Regions from separate parts of the Homo sapiens genome. Here all the other regions are linked to region 3. Evidence: promoter capture Hi-C in 16 types of primary human blood cells and fetal thymus (Javierre and others, 2016). All regions are on one chromosome and are shown on one strand. The core of a region is centred on a gene start or on the middle of the fragment in contact, and the rest is flanking DNA. Distances in the headings are between cores, read along the strand shown.

Region 1 (4,882 bases), core at 582-3,081, 190 kb after region 3:
TGCTATAATCATAAATTAAAAAATAATTTCTCCATGTATTCAAATCCTACTAGCCTATTTTATCCTGGACCAAGACACTTAACCTCTGTAACCTCATCTGTAAAATGTAAATCATATCTAACTTGCATAAAATATTGATGTGAGTATTAAATGAAATAATGTATATAAAGTATCTAGCATTGTGCCCGGCACTAAATAATTTCAAATCTATGTTCTCCTTTTCAGCATTCCCTTTTACTCTCATTGTTCTTTCTTTCTTTTTTTTTTTTTTTTGAGACGGAGTCTCTCTCTATCACCCAGGCTGGAGTGTAGTGGTGCAGTCTCGGCTCACTGCAACCTCCACGTCCCGGGTTCAAGCAATTCTCCTGTCTCAGACTCCCGAGTAGCTGGGACTACAGGCATACGCCACCATGCCCGGCTAATTTTTGTATTTTTAGTAGAGATGAGGTTTCACCATATTGGTCAGGCTGGTCTCAAACTCCTGACTTTAGGTGATCTACCCGCCTTAGCTTCCCAAAGTGCTGGGATTACAGGTGTGAGCCACTGTGCCTGGCCCTTTTTTTTTTTTTTTGAGACTGAGTCTTGCTCTGTTGCCCAGGCTGGGTGCAGTGGCCTGATCTCAGCTCACTGCAACCTCCGCTTCCTGGGTTCAGGTGATTCTCATGCCTCAGCCACCCAAGTAGCTGGGACTACAGGCGTGCATCACCACTCCCAGCTAATGTTTATATTTTTAGTAGAGACAAGGTTTCATCATGTTGGTCAGCCTGGCCTTGAAGTCCTGACCTTAAGTGATCACCTGCCTCGGTCTCCCAAAGTGGTGGGATTACAGGTGTGAGCCACCACACCTGGCCCACATTGTTCTTTTTAAAAGAACTTCACTACAGGTGCTCCAGTGCAGGCTAGATTACGTTTATAGTTGAATACTTTAAGTTTCATACAATAAAATTTACACTGGAGCATACAGTTCTCTGAGTTTTGATAAATGCCTAGAGTTGTGTAAACCACCACCATAGTTAATTTACAGAACAGTTTCCCCTCACCATCACCCCTCAAATTTCTTTCTACCCCATTGTTTAGTCAAACCCTCCCCCACCTTTAATATTTGGCAGCTCTGGATTTGTACCCTATCCTTACTTATTTATTTCTATTTATTTTCACTCATTCATTTAAGACAGGGTCTTACTCTTTCGCCCAGGCTGGAATGCAGTGATGCGATCATAGGTCACTACAGCCTTGTGCTACTGGACTCAAGGGATCCTACTCACCTCAGTCTCTAGAGTAGCTGGGACTACAGGCATGTGTGTCATCATGCCTGGCTAATTTTTTAAAAATTTTTAGTAGAGGTCTTGCTTTGTTGCCCAGGCTAGTCTGAAACTCTTGGGCTCAAGCAGTCCTCCCGCCTTGGCCCCTCAAAGTGTTGGGATTACAGGTGTGACACCAATCGCCCACTCCAGCCCCACCTTTTTTTTTTTTTTTCCCCAAAGAGAGATGGGGCCTCACTGTGTTGTCCAGGCTAGAGTGCAGTGACTGTTCACAGATGGGATCCTAGCACACTACATCTTTGAACTCCTTAGCTCAAGTGATCCTCCTGCCTCAGCCTCCTGAGTACCTGGGACTACAGGGATCTCCCACCTCTTCTGGCCTGAGCCCTGTAATTTTGCCTTTTCCACTGTGTCATTTAAATAGAATTGTAAATCAATTTTTAAAATGGGCTTTTATTTTCTTGTTAGGTTTTTAGATTTTTAAAAAATTATTCTAGGTACAAATTCTTCATCAGAAATGTAATTTGCAGGTATCTTCTCCTAGTCTGTGGTATATCTTGTATTTTCTTAACAGTATCTTTTACTTTCGATGGATTTCAGTGTATCCGTTTTCTCTAATGGATTGTGCTTTTGATGTATGTACGAACTATTTGTGTAACTCAAGGTCACAAACATTTTCTTTAAGTTTTACAGTCTGATTTACATTTGGGTCTGATCCATTATTAATTTTGTATTAAATGTGAGCTAAAGTACATTTTAAAAATATGTACATCTTAATTATTCCAGTACTACCCAGCACTTTGGGAGGCCGAGGCGGGTGGATCACGAGGTCAGGAGATCGAGACCATCCTGGCTAACATGGTGAAAGCCCATCTCTACTAAAAAAATTAGGCGGGCTTGGTGGTGGGCGCCTGTATTCCCAGCTACTGGGGAGGCTGAGGCAGCAGAATGATGTGAATCCGGGAGGCGGAGCTTGCAGTGAGCCGAGATCACGCCACTGCACTCCAGCCTGGGCAACAGAGCAAGACTCTGACTCAAAAAAAAAAAAAAAAAAAAAAAAAAAAAAAAAAGACTTTTTCCCCGTTGAATTGTTTTATCACTTTTGTAAAAGATCACTTTTGCTGTATTTATGTGGGTCTATTTCTGGTCTCCATTCCATTCTTTTGATCTGTATATCTTTTTGCCAGTACTGTAACTTCATAGTTATGTTTTGAAATCAGGTGTTCTGTTTTAAAATTTTTCAAAATTTGGCCACTCTAGTTTCCTTGGTATTCCATATAAAATTTAGAATCACTTTGATGTTTATCCAAAAAATATTTGGAGTTTGATTGGCATTGAGTGGAATCTATAGGTCAGTTTGGGAAGAATTAACATTTTAATTATGTTGTTTTCCAATCCATGAAGATGGCATCTCTCTCCATTATTTAGGTCTTATTAAAATTTCTTTCATCAATATTTTGCAGTTTTCCGTGTACACGTTCTTCACATATTAAATTTATACCTATGTATTTCACGTTTTGGTGCTATTGTAAGTGGCACTTTAAATTTTTTTGATCTTCAGTTATTCATTACTAGTATGTAAAAATATAGCTGATCTTTTCTTTCTTTCTTTCTTTTTTGAGATGGAGTTTTGCTCTTGTTGTCCAGGCTGGAGTGCAGTGGCGCCATCTTGGCTCACTTGTAACCTCCGCTTCCCGGGTTCAAGTGATTGTCCTGCCTCAGTCTCCTGAGTAGCTGAGATTACAGGCGTCTGCCACCATGCCCTGCTAATTTTTTGTATTTTTAGTAGAAATGGGGTTTCATCATGTTGGCCAGGCTGGTCTTGAACTCCTCACCTCAGGTGATCCACACACCTTGGCCTCTCAAAGTGCTAGGATTACAGGCATGAACCACCGTGCCTGGCCCAGCTGATCTTTTTATATTGGCCTTGGACTTCGCTAAACTCATTTCTTCTAGGAATTTTTTGTAGATTAATGGGATTTTCTGCATAGCCACATACATAGTCATCTGATTAGAAACAGCTTTTTTCCTTTCCAATTTCTTTTATTTCTTTTTCTTGCCATATTGTATTTGTAAGACTCCGTCCAGTACAGAGTTGACTGAGAGTGACTGGGCAGCTGGCCTAGAAGTGCCTCTTCTAGGCACTTCTTTTTCGTTTCCTAGTTTGCTGAGAGATTTTTATAGTAGTGGATGTTGAATTTTGTCAAATGCTTTATTTATATCCTATCCTGTGACTTTTCTTCATTAGGCTTTTAGTGTGGTAATTAAATTGAATTTTGAATATTTAAAACTATCCGTGCAATCCCAGGACGAACCCCACTTGATTGTGGTGTAATTATCCTTTTTATATATTGCTAGATTGTATTTCCTAATATTTCATTGAGGATTTTTGCATCTTTGTTCATGTAGTAATTTTCTTGAAATGTCTTTGTCGGATTTTGATATCAGTGTGATCTTATGGAAATTGGGAAGTGGTCCCTCCTATTCTAGTTTTTGGAAGAGTGGTGTAGAATTTTTTTTTTTCTTCCTTGAATGATTAGTAGAATTTTCCAGTGACACCATTTTTGGTCCATGAGTTTTCTTTGTGCAAGAGAGTTAATTACATACTCAGTTTGCTTAATAGATATAGGATCATTCGTGTTGTGTCTTCTTTAGTGAGGTTTAGTAATTTGTGTCTTTAAGAAGTTGGCCTGTTTTATTGAGTTGATGAATTTAATGGGCAAAGAGTTTGTAGTATTTGCTTATCATCCTAGGTAGAGTTTTATTAGTTTCATTGATCTTTAGCACTAGCTTTTGGTTTTGTTTCTCGGTTTTTTTCTTTTTTTTTTTCCTTTTTAATTTCATTGACTTCTGCTGTTTATTATTCCCTTTCTTCTGCTTGCTTTGGGTTTTTCTTTTTCTTTTTTTTCCTGAAGTGTTTGAGATCTTTCTGATTTTCTTACATAAGCATTTAATATGATAAATTTTCCTGTAAACACTGTTATGTCCCACAACTTTGATATGTTGTATTTTCATTTTTGTCTAGTTCAAGATATTTCTAATTTTCTTTGAGATTTCCTCTTTCAAGCTTGGATTTAGCAAAAGATGGTTTAATTTGGAAGTAGGCTGTCTACATATTCAGTGGATTACTGAGAGAGGAGTGTTGAAATCTCTTAAGTATAATTGTGGAATCATCTATTTGATTTCTATCAGTTTTTTCTTTATTTTGAAGTTACTGCTGCTAATTTTTCTTGTTCTGGAGTTTGCTTTGTCTGATAGAAATATGGCCACTGTAGCCTTCATGTGATTAGTGTTTGCGTGATATATCTTTTCCCATCTTTTTACTTTTAATCTGTATATATCAATCATTACATTGAAAACTGAGCTGTTATGGACAGCATAGAGTTTTGCCCTTTTTAAAAAAAAGATCTGAGCGGTTGCCCTGCCTTTTAAATGGTTTGTTTTGAACATTTACACTTGATGTAATTATTTACGTGGTTAGATTTAGGTCTTTTAAAATTACTTTTCTCTTTGTTCCTCCTTTTTCTGCCTTTTGGATTACTTGAAATTTTTAAAATATTCTACTTGATATATTTATTGGCTTTTTAAAAGCTTTTCTCTTGGTCTTACTATTTTAGTGG
Region 2 (4,430 bases), core at 310-2,809, 240 kb after region 3:
AGGACCCACGTCCTCCACCCTGAATATACCAAAATCTGCGCATGCTCATGTCAGCCCAGCAGAACCCATGTATACAAAAATTTGACCGTCCATATATGCAGGTTTCACATCCCACAAATAACTATTTTTGATCCCTGTTTGGTTGAAAAATATTCATAAATAAGTGGACCCATGCAGTTCAAACCTGTGTTGTTTAAGAAGCAATGGGGTTTTTTTTGTTTTTTGTTTTTTTAAGATGGAATCTCTCTCTGTTGCCCAGAGTGGAGTGCAGTAGTGGCATGATCTCGGCTCACTGCAACCTCTACCTCCTAGGTTCAAGTGATTCTCCTGCCTCAGCCTCCTGAGTAGCTGGGATTACAGGTGCCTGCCACCATGCTCGGCTAATTTTTTTGTATTTTTAGTAGAGACGAGGTTTCACCATGTTGGCCAGGCTGGTTTTGAACTCCTGACCCCAAGTGATCACCCACCTCTGCCTCCCAAAGTGCTAAGATTACGGGCGTGAGCAACCGCACATGGCCAGCAACTGTATTTTTAAGTATATTATCCAGTGGCTTTTAGTATATACATAATATTATTCTACAAACATCACCTAATTGCAGACTATTTTAATCACCTTATATCCGTTAAGCAGTCATTCGCTATTCCTTTCTCCCCCTAGACCCTAGCAACCACTCATCTGCTTTCTGTCTTTGTGGATTAGCCTATTCTAGACATTTCATATAAAGGGAATCATGTAATATGTTGCCTTTTGTGATTGGCTTCTTTAATGTTTTCAAGATTCATCCATGTTGTATCATGAATCATCACTTTACTCCTTTTCATTGCTGAATAATGGTTCCATTATATGGACATTTCCATTTTTTACGGAAATGTCTTATGTGAACATATGAACATTTGTGTACAAGTTTTTCATTGAACATCTGTTTTTAATTCTCTTAAGTATATATATTTCAAAGGAGAATTCCTGGGTCTTGTGGTAATGCTATGTTTAACTTTTTGAGGAACCATCAAATACACAAATTATTTTTAGACCGCAGGTTCCACTTCTGTGAAATATGGAGATTTACTCATTTAAAAAATATTAATTGAACACTTTCTACAGGCGTACTGGACACCTGGGGATCCTTTCATGGGGTTGGGAGGAGAAAGACAGATATTAAACAAATGATTATACAGATAACTGTCTAATTAAAATTATGATAATTTCTATAAAGTAGATGTTTAAGGTGCCATGAGAACTGAGAGGGTATCTATATCCAAACGAGTGTGGAAACTCAGGAAAGGCTTCCTTGAGTAATACTTTATTGTAACTGAGTGAAGTAATACAGTAATAGCGTCTAATATTTATTGAGTGCTTACTATCTGCCAGGCACTATTCTAGTCTCACAACCATGTTTCTGATATCTATTTTACAGATTAGTAACTGAGAAATGGAGAGTTCAAAGAATTTACCTTCAATTCATAGCTAGTGAGTTGTGAGGCTGGCATTCAAACCTAGGCTGTCCCACCTTAGAGCTCCATTACAATATTCTTGTCTTTCCAAGGGAGGCAGCCTTATGCACAGCCTCTGAGGAAGGGTGGTACTTACTGTTTTGAGGAAATACAAGAATACGAATGTGATAGGAGTGCACTGAAAGTGCCACAGGACAGGGTGGGATCTTGTGGAAGGAGAGAGGCCTATGAAGCTCAAGAGTCAAATGAGGCCAGATTGGTTCATTTAAAAGATTTTAATGGGGTTGAACTACATGCATGTTCTTCATGTCTTTCTCAGTGGGAATACACTCAGAGGAGTATTTACCATAGAACTAATGAAACTTAAACTTCAGGATTCCTCACTACGTGGGATCCTGTGAATTCTGGAAATTCTTGTGAGTTATAGTGTTCAGAAGAGGCCAGGATGCAGTCAGTGAGCATTTCTGGTTAATTTCTAAGAGCTCTCAGAAGAAGAAGGCTCTTAAAATTGTATCAGCTTTAGGTATCACAAAACCTGGATCCATTTCTTAACATTTCTGGCAACAATATCTGTCTCATTTCGCATACTGATTTGGGTGGGGTGTCTGAAGGAAGGTGGCTGAGAATTGCTGTCTTAAGGCATGATATGATATCAGAGTCAAAAGACCCTGAAATGCGCTTATACTTGGCACTAGTTGGTAAGTCATTAGGCTGTAATAAAAACTGGGTAAAAGTAGACTATTTAAAAAATAAGAACCATGGAAAAAAAGTCTATGAAAATAAAACTATACAAACTTTGAAATTATTGTTCTGATCAGTACAGTTATATTTGTTGATAGCCTATGTGCATTTCAGTATTTACAGCTTAGGGCATAAACATGTAGCCGTAGCATAAACAGCTTTTGAAACTATGTTTTATAAATGTGGAAAATACTCTTGACTGGAAACTTTCTAATCTATTTTTATTCTTGGTTTCAGGCGCCTGATCACAGATTCAAAAGTTAAATTAAAGTATCAGCATTTAATAACAAATAGCTTTGTAGAGGTAAGTGATTTGTTTTCCTTCTTGTAAGAAGGAATTCTGTTTATTAATAGAAATACTATTTTAAAAATTATAATTTATTGACAGTAAAAAACATCTTTAACATATTTATGAAGCATGCCAAAATACCTTTATTCTCAAAAGAGTATGACAGGCCAGGTGTGGTGGCTCATGCCTGTAATCCCAGCACTAAGGGAGGCCGAGGCGGGTGGATCACCTGAGATCAGGAGTTCAAGACCAACATGGCGAAACCCTGTCTCTTCTAAAAATACAAAAATTAGCTGGGCACAGTGGCACAAGCCTGTAATCCGAGCTACTCGGGAGGCTGAGGCAGGAGAATCGCTTGAACCCTGGAGGCAGAGGTTGCAGTGAGCCGAGATGGCGCCACTGCACTCCAGCCTGGGTGACAGAGCGAGACTCCCTCTTAATAAAAAATAAAATAAAATAAAATAAAAGAGTATGAGAAACCAGTAAGTACATCTCTCCATAGATCTTGACCTTGGATAATAAAATTATTTTTACTGTATTCTTCCTTTACTTTTCTTTATCCCTAGCTGAGAATTGTAGTAGATTACTAATCGTGTCATGTTTAATCATGTTTGAGATTCTAACCCTGCTATTTCTCTGCTCGTTTTAGGTTTCATTACCAGTAAATCTTGTTAATAAAGAATGCTATCCTTTATTGGACCATGCCTTTGCCCATTTGTTCTATGACTCCTTTTGTGCTACAGTGGCAGAGTTGAGTAGTTGCTACAGAGACTGTTCTGGCCTGCAAAACCAAAATTCTTTACCCTCTTGGCTTGTTACAGAGGAGTTTTTCAGCCCCTGTATGACAACATCAGTAACTTGGTCTTTTAATTCTAGAAAGTAATTATTTCTGTTAGAGATTAAACCTGGAAACAGCCTATTTTAGAAATAGTGTATTATTTGAAATGGTCAATGGACTTCTGAATTCTGGTGCAGAGTGTTTTTTTTTCATAATACTATAAAAGTTATATTTCCTTTTGAGGAACTAAAATGCAATCTTTGCCTGTGGTTTAGGAACTGGGTTTTTTGTTTGTTTTTTTTTTTCCTTCTTACAAGAGCTTTTTATGGGAGAAGTTGTATGTATATCCTTTAGCCTATCTTGAACTATTCTGTAGCTTCTAAACACCTTCCTTGATAAAGAGTATATCTGATTTTCTTGTGTCTTTTGAAAATTGTTCTGAAATAGAACTGTAAATAAATTAGTGGTTTTTAATGGTCACATACATGATATTTAATTAAAGTTATTCAGTGGGATTTTGAAGATAGAACAAGAGGTGATTCATGTATTTTATAAAACCAGGTCTTCAGGGATCAGTCATCTTTAAAAAAAAAAAAAAAAGGCACATCTGAAGTGTTGCTATAGAAGACCACAGCAAGTTTTCATAAGCTTGTGTAATTATCCCCCATTTGCCCCTTGTACCAGAGAAGCAATATAAATAGCTTGATGTACTAGGAAATCTTGCATCATGACCTAATTTAATTTGCTGTCTTTTTTTGAGGCAGGGCCTCATTCTAACACCCAGGCTGGAGTGCAGCAGATGATCACAGCTCTCTGCAGCCTCTACTTCCTGGGCTCAAGTGATCCTCTTGCCTCAGCCTCCTGTGTAGTCGGGACTACAGGCACATACCACCATGCCTGGCTAAATTCTTTTTTCTTTTTTTTAAGGTAGAGACAAGGTCTTGCTATGTTGCCCGGGCTGGTCTGGAGTGCTTGACCTCAAACAGTCCTCCCGCCTTGGCCTCCCTAAGTTCTGGGATTATAGGTGTGAGCCACTGTGCCCAGCCAGCTGTCATTTTTTATTTTCTAACTTGTATTTCAGTGCAATCGACTGTTAAAGTGGTGTCCTGCCCCAGATTGCCACCATGTTGTTAAAGTCCAATATCCTGATGCTAAACCTGTTCGCTGCAA
Region 3 (4,850 bases), core at 1,479-3,978:
ACATTCATTGAGTTAAAGGGAACTTAGAGAACTGAGCAAAACTCTTATCACATCAACAGGGAAACTGAAGCCCAGAGAGTGGGTCAGTGGCAGGGCAGGATTTGGAATGTCTTAACTCCCAAGCTGGGGTTGTTTTCAAAGCACTGTGGCTGCCTGCCTCGGTACCCAGACATCAAAAGGAAAATGAGTCACTGTTTCTGGGGAGAGGATGAGGAAGATGTTGACTTGGAGACCCTCTACAATCATCTTGGAAGGCAACACTTGCCTTGGAGAGTTGTGATTTAGTTTGGAAATAAATCACCAAACACCTGATTCCACTTACATCCCTGCTCTGTGTTTTGCTACCAACCCATATCACCTGACGTCCAAACCGGGCAGGTTGCCTGTCTGAAAGGCTCAGGGGCCCAGTTGCTGCCTAAAGAAGCCCCATGTGGACTAGCCGGGATAGAGGGTGGAAGAATGAAGGGAAGAAAAGACAGAGAAGCATGGTTTGAGAGACAGATGAATGAAAATAACAGGCAGAATTAGAGCTAAATGAAAAGAGAGAGGATGAGGGAACAGTTCAGAGACTGATAGTGAGAAGAGTGAGATTTAAGGGTATTCTATACACTTCCCTTATTGTACGGATGGCCTACAAAGATTAGCTTTGTATGTACATCCTGAAATCAATGTCTAAAAATAAGAAAATGAGTTACTACAGAGGGATGGACAGACAGGCAGGTAGTGGGAGTGCATTAGAAGGACTCTAGATGGTGAGGTATTGTCCTTTCATACACCCATTAACACAATCCCAGCCCAAAGGGTGGAAGCTGTACTCCTAGCCAGATGGTCCTAGCTCTTCTATTGGCATTTTCTCGAAGTGCCTACATTAGTGTGCCAAGGAACCCTACGAGGCCTCCAAGTTGAAGAGGTGGCAGTCTGATTCCAGCTCTCAGTCCTTAGGAATGTACCTTTAGCTGTTACCCAAGGCCCACCACTCCTCTCTTAGGAAGATCATGGAGGATAGTTGGTGACTCTTTCCCAGCAAAAACTTGAAAGCACAGCATGGTGGTGGTGGTGGGGGAGGAGATAAGAGTGTTCCTTCTCAAATCATCTCCCCTTCTCCTGCCCATGTATGACATGTGACTCTGGCTCTCTTACTCCAGCCCTGCCTGGACAGACTTTTCTGCATGTAAACAAGCCTCCTCCCTCTCTCTACAGGAAGAAAGGGGTGTGGCCGAACAGGACCGTGTATCTCTCTAGAAAGGGCAGGGAGAAGATCTCCTTCTGTCTCTTCAGCCTGACTCACCCTGAGAATGGGCCTGGACTGGGACCAGCCTGTGAGGGGAGGGAAAGAAAGAGGCCATAAAGAGGACTGGGGAGGAGCAAAGAAGAGGCACAGGAGTGAGGGGATTAGAGAAGGAAAGAAGTGTGGATTTAGCTGAGAGAAATCCAAGAAGAAAGGGACACAGGGTGGCAGGAGTTCCCAGCTGAGGTCAGGGTTCTGAACTGAAATCAAAAGAGGTAGAGTGCATTGGGATTCTGGCGAAGGGCAGGAGAGATTGGGGCTGTTGTTGAACATGAGGGGGTGTCTGGAACTGAGAGCCTCCTGGGAATTGAATTGGATTTTGTGTTAGACAGGTCTGGGTTCTGAAGAAGGGGAGGGTTTGGGTCTGCGGTGTTTTAGGTTGGCAGTCTGAGAGTCAAAAGAAGGCTCTTGAGGGGGATGGCCGGACTAGGAGGCCAGAGGAGGGGTGCAAGTCCAAGATATGCATGTGGGTGGTTAGGCCTGAGTGAGGTGCCACCAGATGGAGGATTCAGGAGTGTTTGGGCTCAGGGTTTGGGAAATTGAGGGTATTCGAGATCTAGAAGGTGGAATAAGTTTTCAAATTCCAGAATTTTAGGTCTGATGGGAGAGGTGGTGGAAAGGTCCAATTGAAAGGCAGGGACTGCTGGGATGTGAGAGGTGGAGGCCAGGAATTTGGAGGTTAGAGTGGAGAACATGTTAGGGGACCACAGTGATAATCAGAGGGAGGATGTCAGAGAGAAAATTCTGTGATCTGGGAAGGGGGCTGGGCTGAGGTGGGGCTGATATTGGACTGGTGTTGGACTGGCTCTCGGCAGGGCTAGGGCTGGGGCTGGGCTGGGGTCGGGCCACACTCTAATCGGATTGGGGCTGGGCTGGGCTGGGCTGACCCCGCGCACCTTTGTGGAGGCCGGTGAGCCGGTCCTTCAGCACCGTCAGCTCGTAGATGCGGCCGAACTCCTCGAACAGCGGCTTGAGGTCCTGCTCGTCCAAGCCCCGCGGGATCTGCCCCACGAAGAGCTTGATGGCGTCGTGGTCCTTCATGGGTACGGCGGGACCGGGGTTTAGCCCGCTCATGCCGACGCCGCTGTCCGCGGTGCTGAAACCCAGGCGCGGGCCGGGGCCAGCGGGCTGCGCTGACCCTCCCGGCGCCGCGGCCATGTCCCCGCCCTGTCAGCCCTCCCGCCGGTCCCACTGGTCCCGCCTGTCCCGCCGTCCCCTCCCTGGACCGGTGGCGAGGGCCAGGGGGAGGGGGCGGAGCCCGGGCGGAGAGGGCGGGGGGCTGCCCAGGGGGCGGGGTCCGGGTGGAGGGGCGTAGAGGGGGTGGGGCGGGCAGGAAAGGGGCGGGGCCGGGGCGGGGCGGGCCCGGGCCGAGGTGGCGGCTGAACGCTGGGGTCTGGCTTGAGGTCCCCGTGCGGCTCTCTCTGGGCTCCCGCCCGAGCTCTCCCAGAGCCGAGCCCCGAGCCCCAGCCCCCGTGCTTGGTGACGTCAGGCAGCTGGCCGCCGAGTCTACGCAAATGATTTGCATAATGAGGAAGCAGCCGCCAATCAGAGTGGGAGTTGACTGGGCTCGCCGGGGGCGGGGGGGGCGGCTGGGCTCACGCGCTCCTGCTCGCCATGGCAACCGGACCCTCGAATGCCCTGTGTGTGTCGAGTGTGTGCGGGCGTGGCCGTGGATCGCGCGTGTGCGCCTTGGGCCGCGTGAGGGGAAGCAGCTTCGTCATGCGTGATGGTGTCTGCCGGAGTCGGGGCTAATCCCCACCGCACACACAGGCACACACAGGCAAACGCAGGCACACGCAGGCACACACACCTCCAAACGCTGGTGCGTTTCCTGCGGGGGTGGATGGGGATTCCTCTTCTCTATTCCCACTATCGAGCCAGTCCCTCGGAGCCAATCCCACCCCGCCCCATCACACATCTCTGTCTTCGGTGTCTTTAACCACTTTCTTACCCCTGAGCCTCAGACACATTCGTCTCCCTTGCAGCCTTAAAAAGAAAGGAAGAATAAAATAAAAACCCCTTAAACACTCCTTGAACACGGATTCCTCCTTAGGAGAGTGAGGGAACTTAGCCGTATTTACTCAGAACCCATTATGCACCAGGTGCCCAGTTCATCCCAGTTCTGTGAACTCAGGAGTGTTCTCTTTTTCCGGAAAAGGAAGCTGAGGTTCTGAGGGTCGAGGATGTTAGGGCCAGGCCCACCCCAACATTTGTTGGGCCCAGCGCAAAATAAGAAATGGAAATCGACATACTGTGCATCTAAACATTTAAAAGATACAAATCAAATTACAATTTGTTAAATATGTTCCCCTCTTATTTTCACAAATACAGGTTCAGAATTACGAAAATGAAAGACATATGTACAGCTACGCTTTCTATATGACTGAAAGTTGGCAAAATATCAGAGCTGATGGAATTTTATTACTCCTGCACATGTCTAGGTATTCTCTTGATGGATCAGTGATGTTTGCACAAAGTAGTAATACAATGTTTGGACAAAGACACATACTTCATAAATTATATATTTATTCCATAATATATTTTTCATGCCTCTTTCAGTAAAATTGCTAATTATTTTAATAGAGATTTCCTTTTTTTTTTTTTGATAGGTTATCATTCTGTCACCCAGGCTGTAGTGCAGTGGTGCGATCTAAGATCACTGCAGCCTCAACCTCCTGGGTTCAAGCGATCCTCCCACCTAAGCCTCCCAAGTAGCTGGGATGACAGGTGCACGCTACCATGCCTGGATAATTTTTTTTCTTTTTTTTTTTTTGTAGAGATGGTGGTTTCACCATTCTGCCCAGGCTTGTCTAGAACACTCCTGAGCTCAAGTGATCCACCCACCTCGGTGCCCCAGAGTGCTGGGATTACAGGAGTGTGCCACTGCACCTGGCCTAATAGAGATTTTAACATAACTTGTGTCCATTGACTATTCTAAGAAACTGCTGGAGACCAGCAGTAGCAACTGGAATCATCAAAAAGTTCTTAAAACAATATTCAATTCAGAAGCAAATCATGATTTTTAAATGATTTATTTTTCTGGCTGAGCATGGTGACTCACACCTGTAATCCCAGCACTTTGGGAGGCCAAGGCGGGCAGATCACTTGAGGTCAGGAGTTCAAGACCAGCCTGGCCAACATGACAATATCCCGTCTCTACTAAAAATACAAAAATTAGCCAGGCATGGTGGCGGGCTCCTCCTACTCTGGAGGCTGAAGCAGGAGAATCGTTTGAACCCACGAGGTGGAGGTTGCAATGAGCCAAGATCGTGTCACTGCACTCCAGCCTGGGTGACAGAGTGAGATTCCATCTCAAAAAAAAAAAAAAAATGCAGCAGCAAATTATGATTTTCAAAAATCATTTTTCTGGCGGGATGCGGTGGCTCACACCAGTAATCCCAGCACTTCAGGAGGCCGAGGTGGGTGGATTGCTTGAGATCAGGAGTTTGAGACCAGCCTGGCCAATATGGCAAAACCCCATTTTTACTAAATGAATAAATAAATAAAATAAATTATTTTTCTCCTTTAACAGAAAGTTACTCCTTGTAATAAGTTGACCACG

Evidence for each region. The method cuts DNA at HindIII sites, captures the fragments that hold promoters and counts their contacts. A CHiCAGO score of 5 or more calls a contact.
Region 1: a contact is called between a fragment that was not itself captured here and the fragment with the promoter of CELF6 in region 3, in 2 of 17 cell types (monocytes and neutrophils). The highest score is 6.3, in monocytes.
Region 2: a fragment that was not itself captured here is called in contact with the fragment with the promoter of CELF6 in region 3 in 1 of 17 cell types (monocytes); the score reaches 6.2 in monocytes.

What each region holds. Positions count from the first base shown.
Region 1 is chr15:72,508,439-72,513,320 of GRCh38, forward strand. The region is part of intron 1 of ARIH1 (ariadne RBR E3 ubiquitin protein ligase 1); the gene reads left to right. Among named protein-coding and RNA genes, the nearest start is that of ARIH1, 37 kb to the left of the region's middle. The HindIII fragment of the contact is 4,991 bases long and covers 1-4,327 here.
Region 2 is chr15:72,559,053-72,563,482 of GRCh38, forward strand. ARIH1 (ariadne RBR E3 ubiquitin protein ligase 1) reads left to right here. Exons shown (of 14, transcript NM_005744.5): 6 at 2,431-2,497; 7 at 4,342-4,430. Among named protein-coding and RNA genes, the nearest start is that of MIR630, 26 kb to the right of the region's middle. The HindIII fragment of the contact is 4,694 bases long and covers 1-3,906 here.
Region 3 is chr15:72,317,429-72,322,278 of GRCh38, forward strand. It overlaps CELF6 (CUGBP Elav-like family member 6), which reads right to left and starts at 2,729. Exons shown (of 13, transcript NM_052840.5): 1 at 2,185-2,729. The coding sequence starts at 2,446. RefSeq lists silencers at 2,416-2,755, 2,816-2,865. The HindIII fragment of the contact is 9,541 bases long and covers 1-4,850 here.